Linked DNA regions of Homo sapiens: regions 1 and 3 are each linked to region 2. Evidence: promoter capture Hi-C in human tissues and cell types (Jung and others, 2019). All regions are on one chromosome and are shown on one strand. The core of a region is centred on a gene start or on the middle of the fragment in contact, and the rest is flanking DNA. Distances in the headings are between cores, read along the strand shown. Region 1 overlaps LOC128966744 (glycerol-3-phosphate acyltransferase 2, mitochondrial). Region 2 holds the start of FAHD2A (fumarylacetoacetate hydrolase domain containing 2A). Region 3 overlaps MRPS5 (mitochondrial ribosomal protein S5).

The links. Contacts are between HindIII fragments. The study calls those that stand out against the background at their distance.
Region 1: a fragment that was not itself captured here is called in contact with the fragment with the promoter of FAHD2A in region 2 in 2 of the 25 tissues and cell types used here (aorta and dorsolateral prefrontal cortex).
Region 3: a fragment that was not itself captured here is called in contact with the fragment with the promoter of FAHD2A in region 2 in 1 of the 25 tissues and cell types used here (H1 embryonic stem cells).

The regions. Positions count from the first base shown.
Region 1 is chr2:95,798,331-95,802,480 of GRCh38, forward strand. LOC128966744 (glycerol-3-phosphate acyltransferase 2, mitochondrial) reads left to right here. Exons shown (of 16, transcript NM_001422178.1): 11 at 1-66; 12 at 237-319; 13 at 646-764; 14 at 1,414-1,484; 15 at 1,575-1,783; 16 at 1,786-1,861. The coding sequence ends at 1,861. It also overlaps the pseudogene GPAT2P1. Among named protein-coding and RNA genes, the nearest start is that of LINC00342, 27 kb to the right of the region's middle. The HindIII fragment of the contact is 3,229 bases long and covers 875-4,103 here.
Region 2 is chr2:95,400,478-95,404,619 of GRCh38, forward strand. FAHD2A (fumarylacetoacetate hydrolase domain containing 2A) reads left to right here and starts at 2,231. Exons shown (of 8, transcript NM_016044.3): 1 at 2,231-2,395. RefSeq lists enhancers at 1,001-1,940, 1,870-1,949, 1,941-2,879, 3,020-3,139. The HindIII fragment of the contact is 15,771 bases long and covers 1-3,670 here.
Region 3 is chr2:95,083,421-95,087,754 of GRCh38, forward strand. It overlaps MRPS5 (mitochondrial ribosomal protein S5), which reads right to left. Exons shown (of 12, transcript NM_031902.5): 12 at 1,949-4,161. The coding sequence ends at 3,937. Among named protein-coding and RNA genes, the nearest start is that of MRPS5, 36 kb to the right of the region's middle. RefSeq lists an enhancer at 4,033-4,334. The HindIII fragment of the contact is 8,892 bases long and covers 1-4,334 here.

The DNA.
Region 1 (4,150 bases), core at 1,239-3,738, 400 kb after region 2:
AGCCGCTGGGGCTGCAGCCACCGGATCTGCTCCTGGGTGCGCCTAGCTCAGCCCTTTTCCCTGCAGGTATGGAGCCAGCTGGGGAAGGCTGGGAGTACCTGGGGTGTCTGTCCTAGGCATCCTGGCAGCCTGGCCCTCAAAGCCACTGCAGGGATAGCTTTGCCTACTTCCAGTGGGCTGTGTGCAAGTTTCCTGGTGGGCCCGAGCAGGCCACCTAAGAGCCTTCTCCTGGGCAGGAATACATCGTCAGTGCCAGAAGCTGCTGGGGCGGCAGACAGACCCTGGAGCAGCTACTGCAGCCCATCATGCTGGGCCAATGGTAGGGGCACGGGAGTGTGGGGTCTCAGGGGGCAAGGCAAGCAGCCCTTCAGCACCAGCTTATGTATCCCCCATATACACACACTAGCAGCCCTCCCTCACCAAATATCCTGGGGTCATCTAGAATAGTTCCAGGTACTCGCCTTGCCAACAGTCTGAGTGTGGGGTATGGCACAGAGGCCTGGATGGGACTGGGGATTATAGAAGCCATCCTCTGTCCTGGGGCTGGGAGGGGGAAACACCCTCACCTTTTAGAAAGCTCTAGGCATTCCCACAGCTGTTTTTGTGTTTGGACCCTTCATCCTGTAATCTGTGTCTCTATCTCAGTACTGCTGTCCCAGACACTGAGAAGGAGCAGGAGTGGACCCCCATAACTGGGCCTCTCCTGGCCCTCAAGGAAGAGGACCAGCTCCTGGTCAGGAGACTGAGCTGTCATGTCCTGAGTGGTGAGGGTGAACCAGATCTGGGCCTTTGAGGGTGGGTCACTGAACCGTCCCCTCTGTCGGGGTCAGCCAGTCACCAGGGTTCTCCATTCCAAGTGAGTGTCTGCACCTGAGGCCCTCTGTGGTACCTCGGGGACATCTGAAGAAGAATGGAACCCTCCTCCTACAGGAGGAGCAGGCAGCCAGGGCCATCATGAGGGAGCAGCTAAGTGCATGCACAGAGATGGTGGCCTGAGGCCAGGAGGCTGCAGCTGCTTCCCCAAGGCCACACCCAGCCCTGCCTTCTGAGCGGAGTCTCCTTAGCTTTGGGTGGGGATGGTGTTAACTGAATGGAATGATACGTGTAAGGGGCTTAGCATAGTGCCTCTGCAGAGGGCCCTTATAGGGAGATCCATCTGTATCTTCTTCAGTGCCCCTCTAGTAGAGGCTGTGGGTTGATGTGTGGGCCCTACGATGAGATCTAGGGAAAGGCCCCCAGCTCCTGGCCTGCTCTCAGCCTGTGTGTGATGATAAACACCACTGCTCCGGGCATACGTTCCTCATCCCTGGGGTGGAGTTGGGATGTGTGGCTAGGAAGACTTGCCAGATCATGGAGGGACCAGGCTGCTGGGCCTCAACCTGACCAGCATCTCCACCCTCCGCCCCACTCCAGCCAGTGTGGGGAGCTCTGCGGTGATGAGCACGGCCATCATGGCGACGCTGCTGCTCTTCAAGCATCAGAAGGTAGGGGGTGCAATGTGGTGGGGACCTGGGCGGTTGGGGTGGGGGGGTGGATGTGTGGCCCTGCTGCTCAGCCCTGCTTTGCCCACCCAGGGTGTGTTCCTGTAGCAGCTCCTAGGGGAGTTCTCCTGGCTGACGGAGGAGATACTGTTGCGTGACTTTGATGTAGGCTTCTCTGGGCAGCTGTGGAGCCTGCTGCAGCACTCACTGAGCCTGCTGCGGGCACACGTGGCCCTGCTGCGCATCCGCCAGGGCGACTTGCTGGTGGTGCCACGGCCTGGCCCAGGCCTCACACACCTCACCTGGCATGGCTGAGTGCTGAGCTGCTGCCCATCTTCCTGAGCGAGGCTGTGGGCGGTGAGTCTTGAGGTGCACGGGGGGTAGGTGCACGGGGGGTAGGTTCACGAGGCGGGTGGATCATGAGGTCAGGAGACCAAGACCATCCTGGCTAACATAGTGAAACCCTGTCTCTACTAAAAATAGAAAAAATTAGCCAGACGTCGTGGCACACACCTGTAGTAGCAGCTATTCAGGAGGCTGAGGCGGGAGAATCGCTTGAACCCGGGAGGCGGAGGTTGCAGTGAGCCAAGATTGTGCCACTGCACTCCAGCCTGAGTGACACAGCAAGACTCCATCCCAAAATAAATAAATAAATAAATAAATAAATAAATAGCTTTTGGGCAGAGATGATGGGGTCAAACAGGGATAGTTTGACTTCCTCTCTTCCTACTCGAATACACTTTATTTCTTTCTCTTGCCTAATTGCCCTGGCCAGAACTTCCAATACTATGTTGAATAGGAGTGGTGACAGAGGGCATCATTGTCTTGTGTCAGTTTTCAAGGGGAATGCTTCCAGCTTTTGCCCATTCAGTATGATATTGGCTGTGGGTTTGTCATATATGGCTCTGATTCCTTCAATACATAGTTGATTGAGAGTTTTTAACATGAAGGTTGTTAAATTTTATCAAAGCCTTTTCTGGATCTATTGACATAATCAGGTGGCTTTTGTCTTTAGTTCTGTTTATGTGATGAATCACATTTATTGATTTGTATATGTTGAACCAACCTTGCATCCCAGGGACGAAGCCTGCTTGATCACGGTGGATAAGCTTTTTGATGTGCTGCTGGATTCGGTTTGCCAATATTTTATTGAGGATTTTTGCATCAATGTTCATCAAGCATATTGGCCTGAAGTTTTCTTTTTTTGTTGTATCTGTGCCTGGTTTTGGTATCAGGATGATGTTGGCCTCATACAATGTTAGGAAGGAGTCCCTCCTTTTCAATTGTTTTGGAATACTTTCAGCAGGAATGGTACCAGCTCTTCTTTGTACATTTGGTAGAATTGAGCTGTGAATCCATGTGGTACTGGGCTTTTTTTTTTTTTTTTTGGTAGGTAGGCTATTTATTACTGCCTCAATTTCAGAACTCATTATTGGTCTATTCAGGGATTCAATGATTCAATCTTGGGAGGGTGTATGTGTCCAGGAATTTATCCATTTCTTCTAGATTTTCTAGTTTATGTGCATAGAGTTGTTTATAATATTCTCAGATGGTTGTATTTCTGTGGGGTCAGTGGTAATATCACCCTTATTATTTCTGATTGTGTTTATTTGAATCTTCTCTCTTTTCTTCCTTATTAGTCTAGCTAGTGGTCAATCTATTTTATTACTTTTTTTCAAGAAACAAGCTCCTCGATTCATTGATCTTTTGAATTTGTGTGTGTGTGTGTGTGTGTGTGTGTGTGTGTGTGTGTGTGTATCTTCTTCAGTTCAACTCTTATTTTGGTTGATTCTTGTCTTCTAGATTTGAGGTTTGTTTGCTCTTGGTTCTCCAGTTCTTTTAGTTGTGATGTTAGGTTGTTAACTTGAGATTTTTCTAGCTTTTGAATAAGGTCATTTAGAGGTATAATTTCCCTCTTAACATTGCCTCAACTGTGTCCCAGAGATTCTGGTACATTGTCTCTTTGTTCTCATTGGTTTCAAAGAACTTCCTGATTTCTGCCTTAATTTCATTATTTAGCCAGGAGTCATTCAGGAGCAGGCTGTTCAATTTCCATGTAGTTGTGGGACACTTCTGAGCTTCATGAGCTCTTGTAAAGTTGGTCTGGTGGTAACAAATTTTCTCAGCATTTGCTTGTCTGAAAAGGAGCTTATTTCTCCTTTGCTTATGAAGCTTAGTTTGGCTGGATATGAAATTCTGGTTTGGAGTTTATTTTCACACATTCACTCATCACTTCCCTGCACAGGCGAAGGGGTTCCCCTTGGCTCTTTGTCACTTCTGGGTGGGCTGTCACCCTGCCCTGCTTTTTTCCATTCTCCATGGGTGGAGCTGTTTTCCTGATCAGTTCCAGTGTGAGTACTTGGATATTTCAGTTGAAGGTGCTGTGTTTACTCATCCCTTTCATTCTTCTCTGTGAGAGCCATGCACCATAGCTGCTTCTAGTTGGCCATCTTGGCCCCCTTCTGGCTGAGCCTAATTCTGTGTAATAGAGGTTGTACATAGATATGCCCTATAAACACAGATTATAGAGAAGGATCATACAATATGATCATACAATATGATCCTTACATATGCACATACATGTGCAATATGGCTCTGCATGTGTCATGCATCAGTCAAAATTACTCTGTTTTTTACTTCAGGGTATCTTGACTATAGTGTTTCATATG
Region 2 (4,142 bases), core at 981-3,480:
ATGAGGCCAAGAATGGGAATTTAGAGGGTCTGTGTCTGGCCTGGTCACAGATAAACAAGGGAGCATCTGGGAGTCTTATCCAGGTTATATAGAAAGTCACTGGTTCTTTCCAGTAGGGGGTTTTCTGGAACAAAAGAGTGGTGGGATTCCTTAACCTTCACTATTTCTAGAAGCAAAGGGCTAAGGTAAAATTCAATACTGTCAATAGTCAGGATTGAAATGGCTACATCATATGGTAGGTGTATGTTTAATTCTCTTCATACACTGACAAATGGTTTTCGATCGTGGTGGTACTATTTTATAATCCCATCAGCAGTGTACAAGAATCCCAGGTCCTCCACATTCTTGCCAGTACTTGGTATAATCAGTCTTCTTTGTCCATTCTAGTAGGTGTGAGATGGTGTCACATTGCGCTTGCAATTTGCATATCCTTAATGATTAATGATGTTGAGCATCTTTTCATGTCCTAATTTTTTCTTTCTTTTTTTTTTTGAGACAGAGTCTTGCTTTGTCGCCCAGGCTGGAGTGCAGTGGCACGATCTCGGCTCACTGCAAGCTCCACCTCCCGGGTTCCCGCCACTCTTCTGCCTCAGCCTCCCCAGTAGCTAGGACTACAGGCGCCCACCACCACGCTCGGCTAATTTTTTGTATTTTTAGTAGAGATGGGGTTTAACTGTGTTAGCCAGGATGGTCTCGATCTCCTGACCTTGTGATCCGCCTGCCTCGGCCTCCCAAAATGCTGGGATTGCAGGCGTGAGCCACTGCGCCCAGCCTTCATGTCCCAATTTTCTGTCTGTATATCTTATTTGATGAAATGTCAGTTCAAATATTTTGTCCATCTAAAAAATTGAATTGTTTGATTTTATCTACTGACTTTTAAGCATTCTTTCTATATTCTGGATACAAGTCTTTTTATCAAATATAGCCTTTACAGATATTTTCTTCCAGGCTGTAACTTAGCTTTTCAGAAAGTCTTTGGGAGCTATGGCTTAGTGAAACCCTTGTGCCAGGTTCTCCTCAGCGAATCCCCCTGATCACAGCCACCCCCATAGGTTCCATTTCAATATCTGTGGTGACCTTCTGCAAGCTAGGCTGAAGTCCCAAGCTCCAGACCCATGTCTCCAACTGCCCACCGTTCAATGCCCTTTGGATGTCCCATGCAAATCGGAGCTCACCATCCTCTCCCCAGACCCGCTGCTCCTCCAGGAGCCCTGTCTCCATGAACGGCCCTGCACCTACCGAGCTAGAGACCCAGGAGTTGGCCTTGTACCTCCTTCCTTCTCACTTCCACCTCCTGTCATTCAGAGCTGTCAGTTCTTCCTCCTGAACATCTCTGGACACTCACCTTCTCCACCACGCACCGCACCACCATTGTTCTCAACCGCACCACCCACCCAGACACCTTTCCTCAGACGGGTGGCCAGAGAAAAACTTCTCAAATAGAAGTCGGGACATGGCACGCCACTGAGAACCTTCCAGCGGTCTCCTGTGCACGTAAACAAGGTCCAGACTCCTTCGTGGGACAAGTAAAGCTCTTGATGATCTGGTCCTTGAGTAATGTGGGGGCCACTTGTACAGAGCCCCTCACACTGTTCAAAGTCGGCAGCTGAAGAGCTGAGCAGTAGCTGTCTGTGGAGTTCAGCTGCCACTCCCTACACGCCTGCCCTCTGCAGGGGATGGAGTCCCGTTTCCCCACTTCCCCACCTGCGCCCAGCAGTGCAGGTGAAGGCCTGGCTGCGGAGAGTGGCTGGGAAACGCTGCGCTTTGGGGTCAGGAATGCCAGCTCCACTACTCACCGCCTGTGTCACCCTGGGAAAACAGCTCTGGCCCCAGGTTCTCCATAAGTAAAACGGGGGCAGTCATCCCTCCCCTCCTCAACGACATATGTCAGAATCAGAAGCCACAAATCATTCTCTGCCACCCAGCACGCTGCCTTGGTCTCCTAGACCACTTTCCCCAACAATGGGAAAGGCGCCAGGCCCAGAACAAGGCCGAGACCGGATGAGGCCAGCGAAGCGCCCAGGGACAAACCTTCGGGCAGCGCCCACTCTCGAGTTCAGGCAAGTGCAGGGTCCCTCCGAGAGAGAGCGTCTCCAGAGAACGCGGCTGGCGCCTGGCTGAACCCGTAGCCTGAAGACCCGCCGGAGCCGCCCGCCCCACGATGGGCCCGCCCCTCCGGGATTGGCGCCCTGCTAGTGGCCATTGCCTGTGACGTCACAGGATCGCGCCCGCTTTTCTCTCGGGTGATCCGGCCGAGTGGCCCTGGGTTAGCAGCTGCTGCATTTCCCCGGCTGGCTGCGGTCACTGGTGGCAGTGCTCAGGCGCCCGCCGCCCTTGACCTTCGGCCCCGCGAGCTCTAACCCTACAGCGCAGGAAGATCGGCCGCCGCGGCCAGGTAGGACGAGCCTGGCTGGGTCTAGGCCAGAAGGGTGTCCGTGGCGCCGGTCTCCCGCGGAGCGCAGAACTAGTACCGGATCCCCAGCCGCTTCTGACCACACAGACGGGGCGGACCTGTGTGAGCACTCACTAACTGTCGGGGCTGGAGCTGGGCATATGGGGAAACTGGGGGACCGGCACGGGTTCCAGGCGAGTGGACGGTGGGATGGAATCCGACGTGCACACCCATGTCTCAGGCTTTGTTTGATGGAGGCTACTGTTTCCACCTCATGTCGCCGCCCCTTTGCTTATGGACTCTTGCAGAGTTGGATTGAGCTCGGGCTGTGTGATATAGTGGTTGTTGCAGAAGCCCCAGGGCCACTTTCTGACTAGTACCTTGGGCACCTGACATCATCCCTTTGAGTCTCAGTGTCCTCTTCTTTAAAGTGAGGGCGCTCTACCTGAGGAGATTGCTGTAAGGTTGGAATGAACCTGCATGTGTGTGTCATGTGGGAAGGGAACAGTCAGTGGGGCCTGGGGTTCTCTTGGAGAGCTGGTAACCAGCCTCGTCCCTGAGGCAACAGCCAGAGGGCGCCTGTAGTTTCCCCACGCATGTCTGTTAGCAGTTACGGCCTCTGGAGGATCTCCTGTGGGAGGTCCCTACTTCTCACTACAATCTTTAGAGACTTTGGAGGATTTCCTATGGAAGGTCCCCACTTCTCACCACAACATTCTGGGTTAAAATGGCCTTGGTAGGGGGATGGGGGCTGAAGCTGGATTTTTTTGCTTGCATTACAAGCTTCTGAACCAAGGACTTCATGTCACCTGGACTTGGATTCACATCCCAGCTCCTTCCTCTCCTAGCTCTAGGACTGTGTAACCTTGGGCAAATCTCTTAACCTCTTTAAGCCTTAATTGTTTCATCTGTAAAATGAGGCTAACAGTACCTACCTTCCACAATTGTCGAGAATTAAATCAGACATTGTAGGTAGAGCACTTAATAGTTGGCATTCAGCGGCAGCAGTTACTGTTATGTTAGCATGTGGAGTGTCTGAGTGTGTGCACATTGGCTCGAACAGCCTTTTGACAGTGGCACAGTTGGTGCTTGTGTAAGACAGCAGGGCAGAGAAGTCAAAGCCCTCGGTTTTCTAGTCAAACTGGTGGGCCACAACAGTGGTGACCTAAGTCTAATGAATCTTCAACTGAACAAGGCAGATTGAATCTCCAGGTGAGGACCAAGAGTCTGGGGATCAGCTGCCTCCACATTTTTGGGCATAGAAGGCTGTACAATACCGCCTTTGTTGTAAGAGCAAGGAACCATTCAGGGAAGGCACCATGTGGTAAGGAATAGAGGCCAGACGTGGATTAAGAACAAAACAAGAGAATAGTGTTTGTCTTTAAGTGGAGCCTTGGACTCAAAACAGGATCTGAGCCCTGAGGATTTTTTTTTTTTTAATTGAGATGGAGTCTTCGTCTGTCACCCAGGCTGGAGTGCAGTGGCGCGATCTCAGCTCACTGCAACCTCCTTCCCCTGGGTTCAAGCGATTCTCGTGTCTCAGCCTCCCTAGTAGCTGGGATTACAGGTGGCTGCCACCACACTCGGCGAGTTTTTTGTATTTTTAGTGGAAACGGGGTTTCACCACGTTGGCCAGGCTGGTCTTGAACTCCTGACCTCAAGTGATCCACCCACCTCGGCCTCCCAAATTGTTAGGGATATCACGCATGAGCCACTACAACTGGCCCTTGTGGGAAGGCACAGCCATGTC
Region 3 (4,334 bases), core at 417-2,916, 320 kb before region 2:
CCCACTGGCAGAACCATTCCAGGAAGAAGTTCAGGGTAGGGAAAACTCAACTTAACTGATGAATTGCTAGACGCTCAGTGCGGCCAAATTTGAAAGGTGAAAACTCCAGAGGGACCCAGTCCTGGTGGGGAACATTTCTACGAGTTTTACCTCCAGGAACTTACCATGTCCCCACAGTGAACACCTACCAGGCTCCTCCTGCTTCTGGCTTGTTTCCTACAAGAAAGCTGCTGTCATCTTTACCTTTGTTCCTCTGTACCTAATCTTCTCTCTCTTCCTCACTTCTAAAACTTCCTCTTTATTGCTAGTTGAAATTTGATTGATAGTTATTATATTTCTTGGGTCTCAGTAGTTGCCATCAATTCAGCTATTATTTCTTCAAAAAAACTTTTTTTTGAGACTTGCTCTGTCACCCAGGCTGGAGTACAATGGCGCGGTCTCGGCTCAGTGCAACTTCCGCCTCCTGGGTTCAAGTGATTCTCCTGCCTCAGCCTCTGGAGTAGCTGGGGTTACAGGCGCCTGCCACCATGCCTGGCTAATTTTTGTATTTTTAGTAGAGACAGGGTTTCACCATGTTGGCCAGGCTGGTCTCGAACTGCTGACCTCGTGATCCACCCGCCTCAGCCTCCCAAAGTGCTGGGATTACAGGCGTGAGCCACTGCGCCCGGCCATTTCTTCAAATTGTTTTTTATACCTCCCTTCTCCACGGACTCCAATTATACACGTATTTGGCTCCCAAAGTTGTCCCATAGTTCTCTAATGCCCAATTTCTCCTACCTTCTTCAGTCTTTTTCCTGTTTAAGTTGCTGTCTTCCAATTCTTTCATATCTTTTTCTGAGATGTCCAATCTGCTGTTAATCCCATTCAGCGTTTTTCATCAGATATTGCAGTTTTCATCTCTAGAGGTTCAACTTGGTGTTTTGTATCTTCCATGTTTTTCTCTCTAGCTTTCTGAACATATGGAATACAGTCATAATACCTGCTTTAATGTCCTTGTCTACTGATTGTCATTGTGCCATTCCTGGGTCAGTTTTGATGGACTAATTTTTCACTTCATTATGAGCTTATGTTCATGCTTCTTTGCATGCCTAGTATTTTTGTTTTTGTTTTTGTTTTTTTTGAGATGGAGTTTCGCTCTTGTTGCCCAGGCTGGAGTGCAATGGCATGTTCTTGGCTCACCACAACCTCCACCTCCCTGGTTCAAGCGATTCTCCTGCCTCAGCCTCCCAAGTAGCTGGGATTACAGGCATGTGTCACCACGCCTGGCTAATTTTTTTGTATTTTTAGTAGAGATGGGGTTTCTCCATGTGGGTCAAGCTGGTCTCAAACTCCTGACCTCAGGTGATCCGCCTGCCTCGGGCCTCCCAAAGTGCTGGGATTACAGGCGTGAGCCACCGCGCCTGGCTGCCTAGTGATTTATTAGATGCCAAGTATTGTATATTTTACTTTATTGGGTATATTTTTTGTATTCCTATATTCTTGAGCTTTGTTCTGGAACACAATTAAGTTACTTTGAAACAGTTGTGTTCCAGTTTGGTCTTGTTTTTAAGCTTTCTGAGTTGGGACCAGGGGTAGTTTTTATGTAGAGTTAATTTTTCTACTACTAGGGCATCTTAGTTCTCTTCCAATGCCACCTAGATTACAAGGTTTTCCACTGTGACTGTTGATAACAGGCACTATTTTCCACTCCAAACACTGTTCCCTCTAATTCTTTTGGGTGAGTTTCCTCACCGGCATGCACTATTAGTGTGTAACTAAATATCTGATGGAAACTCTCTGCAGATCTTAGTTCTCCTGCTGTGCAACTCTCTCCTCCAAGGCATTCTCCCCTGTGAACTCTAGTCATTTCGACTGCCCAACTGCACCTCAACTCCAGGAGACCGCCAGGTCCTGATGGGGTAACCCTTCCTAGAACCACGGACTCTCCGCAGATAGTAAGTACAGATAATTTTGTTTCCCCTCTCCAAAGGATCATTGTCTTTTATTGCTTAAAGTTCATTGTCTTTATATTTGTTAGGTACTTAAGAAGGAAAACTAACAGGACAGATAAGTTTTAGGAAATAACTACCTTACTCTAGCAAAATACCACACACAAAAAAAGGGGACCCACCCACACCAGACAACGTCACAGGCTGAAAACTTTCACCATCCAGCCTAACATGGCCTGCTCCCTATCCCACGGTGCCATTAGGGTGCTCCTCCTACTTCCAGCAGAAAGGCCTCAGCAGAGGTCCCGAGGACAGCGACAGGAGGAAACCTGGATCTCCATCCTCACCAGGCAGTAACGAGGCAGTGCCCCATCCCATACCAGCACCGTCAGAGGAAGCATGCTGAGAGATTTAAATAACTCCCAGAGCTTCATAACAGTGAAGATGACCAGGATACAGCCAAAGTCACTCATCATAACAAGAACTAGGACATTGTAAACTTGAATGAGAAAAAACCTCAAGGGATGTCAACACTAAGATGACACAGATGTTGAAACTTTATGACAATTTTTTTTTTTTTTTTGGAGACAAGGTCTCACTCTGCCACCCAGGCTGGAGTGGCATGAACAAGGCTCACTGCAGCCTCAACCTCCTGCAATCAAATGATCCTCCCACTTCAGCCTCCTATGTAGCTGGGACTACAGGCATACACCACCATGTGTGTCTAACTTTTAAATTTACTTTTACTTTTTGTAGAGATGAGGTCTCACTTTGTTGCCTAGGCTGATCTCAAACTCCTGGGCTGAAGCAATCCTCCTGCCTCACCTTCACAAAGTGCTGGGGTTATAGGCGTGAGCCACCACACCTACCTGATGACAAAGATTTTAAAGCAGCCACCATAAAAATGCTTCAGTGAGCAATTATAAACACTCTTGAAGCCATTTAAAGAAAAAAAAAGTCTCAGCAAATAGCCTCAGCAAATAAAGAGAAGACATAAAAAATAAACCAAATGGAAATTTTAACTGAAATATACAATGACAGTCAAAGTTAAAGTACTGCATGGATGGTTCAAGAGCAGAATGGAAAGGAAAGAGTAAATAACCAGTTATTCTGAAGATAAAACAATAGAAATTACCTAAACTGAGCAACACAGAGAAAACAGACTGGAAAAAAAATAAACAGCGCCTCAGGGACTCACGGGACAATAGTAAAAGATTCAACATTTTGGTCATCAGTGTCCCAGAAAGAGGATGTGGGTGGGGCAGAAAGAGTATGCAAAGAAATAAAAATATATATATTCCACAGAATGGGTAAAAACTTCTGTAAAGCATGTATGATAGGGGGGCTTATATCTAGAAACTATAAGGAACTCAATAATAATAAAAAATAACTTTTTAAATGGGCAAAGGCTCTGAATAGACATTTCTCCAAAAAACATATACAAATGGCCAATCAGCACATGAAAAGATGTTCAACATCATCAGCCATCAGGGAAATACAAGTCAAAATTGCAATGGTATACAATTAATATACCATTTAACATTCCCAATAGTAGCCTACAACTTCCATTTCCACTGTGGAAAACGGTTTGGAAGTTCCTCACGGTAGTCAAGTTACTTAACTGCTCTGTAAAATGAAGTTAATCACATTCACTTTGGATGAATGAGTTCATATATATTAGCTATAATTACTACAGCAATTATCATTGTGTACATTATTACTGATTGGGTCAAATTATTAACCCCGTCTCCCTAATTCATTTACTTTTGTTACTTTGGATGAATATTTAAAGTAGTCTTGAACTGAGATATGTATGTAAAGGTTCTATCACATTGGCATATAACATGTGCTCAACAAATGAAAGCTATAATTATTTATTTCCAAAGAGTTTAAAGATTAAACTTCCCTCAAAACAAACAAAAGGCAAGGTAACATCCCAAGCTGTGAGGGGCTGAGTCTCTCCTAGGTGCAGGGCAGCACAGGAACTGGCTGCACAAGGCCAGAGAGGTTACGTGGCGGCTCTCTTCAAATTAGACCACACAGAGCGCTTCATTCCCTGTGCAGTCTTCACATCTTCCCAGTCCAGTTTGACGTCTGGAACCTCATCTTCTGGCTCTGGATCCTTCCTCAAGGGCCCCCGGGGGGACGCAACCACAATGGGCAGAGGGCCACATTCCTCCCGGATTTCCACAACATGGAGGCCCTTCTTATCAGCCAGCTGTTGATGGGTTTCCTAAGCAAGACCAAATTCAGAACAGGTTAGGTCTGAAGTACATTTGCAACATAAAGAGCAGGAACTTCCACAGGCCACAACAGTACAGCCTGGGGGTATTCAAAGGCCATTTCAGTGGATTTGGGTTAATGTGTTTTGTGGCTAAACTCTAATAACCTGTCATGGGTGGAGTC